Regions from separate parts of the Homo sapiens genome. Here region 1 is linked to region 2. The links are contacts of gene promoters, found by promoter capture Hi-C in blood cells and fetal thymus (Javierre and others, 2016). All regions are on one chromosome and are shown on one strand. Each heading gives the region's core, a stretch centred on a gene start or on the middle of the fragment in contact. The rest is flanking DNA. Distances are from core to core; before and after follow the strand shown.

What was found. Contacts are between HindIII fragments. The CHiCAGO score rates a contact against its expected background, and 5 or more counts as called.
Region 1: a fragment that was not itself captured here is called in contact with the fragment with the promoter of TSPYL2 in region 2 in 1 of 17 cell types (monocytes); the score reaches 5.9 in monocytes.

What each region holds. Positions count from the first base shown.
Region 1 is chrX:47,674,366-47,677,772 of GRCh38, forward strand. No RefSeq gene overlaps it. Among named protein-coding and RNA genes, the nearest start is that of UXT, 17 kb to the left of the region's middle. The HindIII fragment of the contact is 2,187 bases long and covers 441-2,627 here.
Region 2 is chrX:53,080,209-53,084,124 of GRCh38, forward strand. It overlaps TSPYL2 (TSPY like 2), which reads left to right and starts at 2,159. Exons shown (of 7, transcript NM_022117.4): 1 at 2,159-3,097. The coding sequence starts at 2,291. GPR173 (G protein-coupled receptor 173) reads left to right here. Exons shown (of 2, transcript NM_018969.6): 2 at 1-407. RefSeq lists silencers at 2,024-2,133, 2,404-2,453, 2,484-2,533. The HindIII fragment of the contact is 18,116 bases long and covers 1-3,916 here.

The DNA of each region.
Region 1 (3,407 bases), core at 284-2,783, 5.4 Mb before region 2:
AATAGGAACCTCAGAGTATTTTAGCCAGTGATGGCAGAGCTTGCTGGAACTCAGGTTTTGATTGCTGGGATGGATGTCATCTGGTTAGGGCTCATCTAAATGCTCCCTCCATAGACGCCAGCTGAGTTCTGCCCCATGTTGCTTTTCGCTGTGACACGGCAGCACTGAGTTCCAATGCAAAGTCCCACATTCACTGTGTTCTCCCTTCCTCAAGCACACAGATTCTCTCTCTGCACCACATGGCCACTGCCAGATGGTGAGGGAAGGGTAGTGTAGGTGATTCAAGACTGTCTTTCCTACCTTCTTTAGTGCCTCTTTCCTTAAAATAATATTAAAACCAAGTACTGTGACTGCTTACCTGCTTTTTGGTTCTTATGAAGGTGGTTTTCTGTGTGTGTAGTTGTTCAATTTGGTGTTCCTGTCGGGGGACAATCAGTGGAAGCTTCTATTTGGCCATCTTGCTCTGCTTCCAAGCCTCAGTAGTTTTTCTTGAATAACCACTTCCCAATTTGTTATATTACCTTGGTAAATTTCCAGAGTCTTTAACTGGTTGTTTTTGGCAATTTTGTCCACTTTTGTCATGGCGTTTTGTGGAGAGGATTGCCAAGCTCCTTAGTCAACCTTTCCAGATGTCTCTCCCTTCCTTGTAACTAGAGTTTTGATTGCATCACTTAAAAAGTGTTAGTATGTTTCACAAAAATGTGTACCAGTATGAATTAGCAGTATATTTATTTATTTATTTGTTTGTTTATTTTTTAAGACGGAGTCTTGCTCTGTTGCTCAGGCTGGAGTGCAGTGGCGCAATCTCGGCTTACTGCAACCTCCGCCTCCCTGGTTCAAGCCATTCTCCTGCCTCAGCCTCCCAAGTAGCTAGGATTACAGGCATGCACCACCACGCCTGGGCAATTTTTGTATTTTTAGTAGAGATGGGGTTTTGCCATATTGGCCAGGCTGGTTTCAAACTCCTGACCTCAGGTGATCCGCCCGCTTCAGCCTCCCAAAGTGCTGGGATTACAGGCGTGAGCCACTGCTCCCAGCCTTTGCCCATTTTTTAGTTGGGTTATTTATTTATTTTGTTTTAGCAAAGTGTAAGGGTTCTTTATGTGTACTTTTTGTGCCATATCTGAGAAACCATTAAGGGGCAGGATTTGAATACATATCTGGCTCCAGCATTCATGTTCTTAACCATTACACCACGCTGCCTGTCTTGAATTAGCAGTTTAGATATAAATGATTTATGTATGTCGTGACTTAGACTCTTGATTTATTCCAAACATGCTTAGTCACCATGCAGTATCTGTATTTTCACATGTGTATTTGTATATATGTGATGATTGTGACACATAAGAATGGTTATTGCATTATTCCCAACAATAGAAGATAATGGTTTGAAGCAGCAATAAGTGAGTACTATTATTGCTCTCCCTATTAATGGTGCCCTTATTTCAGTGATGACGTTCTCTGTCTTTTTTGCCTATCACTTTTGTTTAATATTCTTTCCTCACTTCTAGAAAAAAATGTGTTTCTTCTTTAATATCTGATATGGTTAATGACAGAGCAGGAGCACCGTCATCTTGGACAAACACCGCCACTCTAAGTTCAAGCTCCCTTTCTAGCCTCATGCATTTCAAGGAAATCACTTCTTTTCTAACTACAAGCAGCCAGAAAAGAGCAGACAGTAAAACACAGATAAGACAGCTCAGGCACAGAGGGAGGCGGGGGGGAAGTCTCCTGGGTAACTGCCGAACTTCACCCTCATACAATGGACCCCAGTGAAACAGTGGGCCTTACTAAGCACATTCCTTTCCCTTCAGGTGCACTAAGATAGGGAAGCTAAAAGTAGACTGGGGGGGTATGCCTGCAGCTGCAGGAAGATGTATGGGAACAGACACAAAACTCTCCCTCCCAGATAAGCAAAATGAAGAGACACAGAAGCAGTCCAAGCCTCTGATAAACTCTCCCACCCTAAATCTTTAAAAACTCTTAGTCTGTAAGAGAGTGGGCTCTGATCTAACTTGGCCAGAATCCCCTGTCAGGTTTGTTTTCTCTAAAATAAACCTGTCCTTGACTGTTGAGCCACCTTTCATGTTTCTTTCCTCTTTCTTTAATTCTTAGAATTAGGCTTTGTGTTCCCCACCCAAATCTTATCTTGAATTGTAATCCCCATAATCCCCACGTGTCAAGGGAGAGACCAGGTGGAGGTAATTGAATTGAATCATGGAGGCAGTTTCCTCCATGCTGTTTTCATGATAGTGAGTGAGTTCTCACGAGATCTGATGGTTTTATAAGGGGATCTTCCCCTTTCACTTGGCACTTCTCCTTCCTGCCGCCTCGTGAAGACAGTGCCTTGCTTCCCCTTTGCCTTCTGCCATAATTGCAAGTTTTCTGAGGCCTTCCCAGCCATGCTGAGCTGTGAGTTATTTAAACCTCTTTCCTTTATAAATCACCCAGTCTCAGGCAGTTCTTTATAGCAGCGTGAAAATGGACTAATACAATATCCCTCATAGCAGATGAAATATTGCATCCTTACCATGGACATCTGTGGTTAATCCATTGGTGTAACTTGACAAACATAGTCAGATGGTGTTTAAAATATATTCACACTTACATAAATAGACATCACTTTAAGCTTACTGCACTACTTATTTCTTAGTTACCTTACATTACGTAACAGGAATAATTTTTTTGTTTTATTTTTCTATAACCAACTGAAAGAATAAGTCATATCCCATTCTAGTATGTTCTGAAATTTTTTAAGGCTTTAATGTTAAAAGTTGTCATTCCTTTTCTTTTCTTTTCTCGTTTTTAGAGACAGGGTCTCCCTCTGTTGCCCAGGCTAGAGTGCAGTGGTGCTATCTCCGCTTACTGCAGCCTTGACCTCCTGGGATCAAGCAATCCTCCCACCTCAGCCTCCCAAGTAGCTTGGGCCATAGGCACATACCACCACACTCAGCTAATTTTTAAAAAATAGTTATTTCTAAAATGATTTTGTCTAAAATGATTCTCCTACTAACATAGGTGATTTTTTTTGTTTTTATAAAAGTTAAATGTTCCCTTATTTTTGAGACAAGGATTTGCTCTGTTACCTGGGCTGGAGCGCAGTGGCATGATCATAGCTTACTGCAGCCTCTACCTCCTGGATTCAAGCGATTCTCCTGCCTCTACCTTTCAATTAGCTAGGACTAAAAGTGTATGCCACCATGCCTGGCTAATTAAAAAAAATAATTTTTTTTAGAGACAGGATTTTGCCGTGTTGCCCAGGCTGGTCTTGAACTCCTGGCCTCAAGCAATCCTCCTGCCTCAGCCTCCCAGAGTGTTGGGGTTACAGACATGAGCCACTGCACTCAGCCAAATATAATTCCTGTCACCACAAATATCTGGCTCAGATTTTCCTTATCTATCTTATA
Region 2 (3,916 bases), core at 909-3,408:
GACTTTGGTCAGCTTTGACCAAATTTAGAGGGAGGGATGTCATGGGGAAAAAAAACCCAAGCCCAGGAGTCTACCCAGCCAGCCTGCTCCCTAGACAGTTAATTTACTATCTGGTTATTCTCTCAGGTGCACAGAATTGAGTTGACCATACTCCTCAGTTCTTGGCACACTATATCATCATTGGTCCATGTGAGGCCCTTTTATTTTTTTTTCTTCAGTTTTGTCCCCTTCATCACCCATTCCTGATCCCATCCTCCCCGCCCCCTACACAGGCACCCACTCTCGTGTATTTAACGTACGTCCTTCCAATCCACCGTTCATGTGTTTATTTACATATATGTGTATCTGTGAAAAATGTATGGTATTGCTGTGTGTTTTAATTTACATAAACAGTATTGTACTATAAATCTTGTTGTTTCTTTTTTCACTCAACATTCTGTCTTTGAGAGATCCAGCCATGTTGCCGTATATAGATCTAATTCATTCTAGTGGTCCATCTAAAACATATATCACATTTTTCTTATCCACTCCCCTGATGATGGATCCCTAGGTCTCCTCTCTGCTCCGCGACAAGGCTGCAATGGGCAGTTACCTACACCTCTCTTGAGGGATGCCTAATTTAGGGGAGAGAAAACTGAAGCTCAGAGAGGGGCAGTGATTTGGTTAAGGTTACAAAATGAGGGGCACACCCATGATGTGAATCCCAGCACCAAAGCCAGCCCTCCACCACCATGCCTCACAAAAGACCATCCATCTCTGGTTTAAAAAGAAAAATCTTAAAATACAGCATACACTGGGGAAAGGGAGAGGAAAGGATGGAAAGGGGGAGAAATGAAGAGACAGAAAGTGCTAGAAAATTCTAGCAGATGAGCTGAATCACAATCATTTTTATGACGCAGAGGAAGTTACTTTTTTGTGTGTGTGATTATTATTTGTAGAGCCATTTTGCGGAGATGGAAAACGCCACGTCAAAACCTGGCCCCCAAACCAAACACCCTGGGTGCCTAAATTGCAGGCGCAGGCGGTAGGGCAGCCCGAGCCCCCGAGGAGCTACAGCAGAGTTCACCCAGGGGGCAAACGTGGGGGGTGGGGGAAGGGGCAGAAGTGGAAGGTAGGAAAAGAGGCAGAAGCGGGGGGGCGGGGGGCAGGGGTTGTGTGAGGGAAGGGGCAGAAGTTGGGGGATAGGGGAAGGGCAGAAGCGGAGGGCGGGAGGGTGAGGGAAGGGGCAGAAGTGGGGTTGGGGGGTGAAGGAAGGGGCAGAAGTTGGGGGATAGGGGAAGGGGCAGAAGTGGGGGTGAGGGAAGAGACAGTTGGGGGATGGGGGTCAGAAGCAGGGAATGCGGGAAGGGGCAGAAGGGGGGGTGAGGGAAGGGGCAGAAGCGGGGGAGGAAGGGGCAGAAGCGGGGGGTGAAGGGGCAGAAGCGGGGGTGGGGTGGGGGAAGGGGCCGAAGCGGGGGATGGGGGAAGGGGCAGAAACGGGGGGTGGGGGAAGGGACAGAAACGGGGAGTGGAGGAAGGGGCAGAAGCGGGGATGGAAAAAGGGGCAGCAGTGGGGGATGGGAGAAGGGGCAGAAGCGGGGGTGGGAGAAGGGGCAGGAGCTGGGATGGGGGAAGGGGCAGGACCCGGGATGGGGGAAGGGGCAGAAGCGGGGGTGGGGGAAGGAGCTGAAGGAAATGGGGGAAGGGGCAGATTTTAAAAGTGCGTAGTTGCTGAGGGGAGGGGGGCGGGGGGAACGATAACGAGGCTCTTCCAATTTCATGTGAGCACATCCTGCTCAGCGCCTGCGTTTGTTTTTCGTCTCGTTTTTTGGTCTTCAGAACCACTGGTACTTTTCCCATTGGATAAAACGCTGAGAGGGTGAGGGAGAGGGGCTTCTTCCCCAGCTTTCCTCGCAGCCAATCGCCCTGCAGTTTCCCTCCCGTCGCTGAGGGAGTCAGCCCGTTGATTGGCGGGCCCGAGGGGAGCCAATCGGAAACTGATGATGTGTGGTGTTGGCAAGCGGATTGCGTGAGAGCGGGCAGGGGTCGCGGGAGCGCGATCGCCGCCGCGGCGGCCGGCAGCCAATGGCCAGGCCGAGCGGACCCCTGCGTCAGGAGTGGGCGGGGCTTCGGCGATTGGCGCGGAGGGAGTAGAGCGGGCGCTGTGGGAGGGAACGCCAGAGCGAGGTGGTGAGGAGAGCTGGTTGCGTGAGTCTCCTCAGCTCTGCTTACCGGTGCGACTAGCGGCAGCGACGCGGCTAAAAGCGAAGGGGCGAGTGCGAGTCCCCTGAGCTGTACGAACGCGGTCGCCATGGACCGCCCAGATGAGGGGCCTCCGGCCAAGACCCGCCGCCTGAGCAGCTCCGAGTCTCCACAGCGCGACCCGCCCCCGCCGCCGCCGCCGCCGCCGCTCCTCCGACTGCCGCTGCCTCCACCCCAGCAGCGCCCGAGGCTCCAGGAGGAAACGGAGGCGGCACAGGTGCTGGCCGATATGAGGGGGGTGGGACTGGGCCCCGCGCTGCCCCCGCCGCCTCCCTATGTCATTCTCGAGGAGGGGGGGATCCGCGCATACTTCACGCTCGGTGCTGAGTGTCCCGGCTGGGATTCTACCATCGAGTCGGGGTATGGGGAGGCGCCCCCGCCCACGGAGAGCCTGGAAGCACTCCCCACTCCTGAGGCCTCGGGGGGGAGCCTGGAAATCGATTTTCAGGTTGTACAGTCGAGCAGTTTTGGTGGAGAGGGGGCCCTAGAAACCTGTAGCGCAGTGGGGTGGGCGCCCCAGAGGTTAGTTGACCCGAAGAGCAAGGAAGAGGCGATCATCATAGTGGAGGATGAGGATGAGGATGAGCGGGAGAGTATGAGGAGCAGCAGGAGGCGGCGGCGGCGGCGGAGGAGGAAGCAGAGGAAGGTGAAGAGGGAAAGCAGAGAGAGAAATGCCGAGAGGATGGAGAGCATCCTGCAGGCACTGGAGGATATTCAGCTGGATCTGGAGGCAGTGAACATCAAGGCAGGCAAAGCCTTCCTGCGTCTCAAGCGCAAGTTCATCCAGATGCGAAGACCCTTCCTGGAGCGCAGAGACCTCATCATCCAGCATATCCCAGGCTTCTGGGTCAAAGCAGTATCCTTCTAATCGATACTCCGTAGGTCAGAAGCCCGTGACAGGAAAGGGGAAGGTGGGGGAGGGACAGAAAAGGTAAAGCGGGTGGAGGAGAGCCAGAGGTGGGCATGATCCCCCTATCGGAAGACGGACTAGACTGGGTGGAAGAGGGATGGAAGGAGGAGGGCAAAACAGCAGAGAAGCTGGACTGGAGATGATGAAGGGTGGTGGAGGGGGGGCGGACATAAAAACTGGACCACAGATGGGAAAGGGGGAAGAGGAGGAACATAGCATTAAAAAAAGGATCACAGATGATAAAAAGGGGGAGGGTAGTAAAGGGGCACACAGCAAAAAAATTGGACCAGAGATGGTGAAAGGAGGAGGGGAGGGGCACGTAGAAGATGAACTGACTCAGAGACCTTGAAGAGGGAGGGGAATGGCACACAGCAGAGAAACTGCCCAGAAAGGGTGCTTGAGCCATACAAGGCTCTGTAAACCTAGATTTTTGCTTAAGATACTAGGAGACCCCAATCCTGGCTGGAGTGCCTTGCATTGGAGGGAGGGGGGCTGGAGCCCCTGAAAGATCAAGAGAGGGAGTGTCTAGGTATAGAGAAAAAGGAGTTAAATGAAGGAAAGGGGAGAGTAGACACATACACATACATGTAACATGTTAGGAACATGAGTCGAACATCCTAATAGAATTATGTGGATACAGACCCTTAGCCCTCATATGAAACAGCACATGGTAAGAGGCCCTTAGCACCCAGGCATACAATATCATTTAGACATAGGACCTCAGCTCCTAGACACAGTATTATGTGACCACAGGTCCTCAGCATG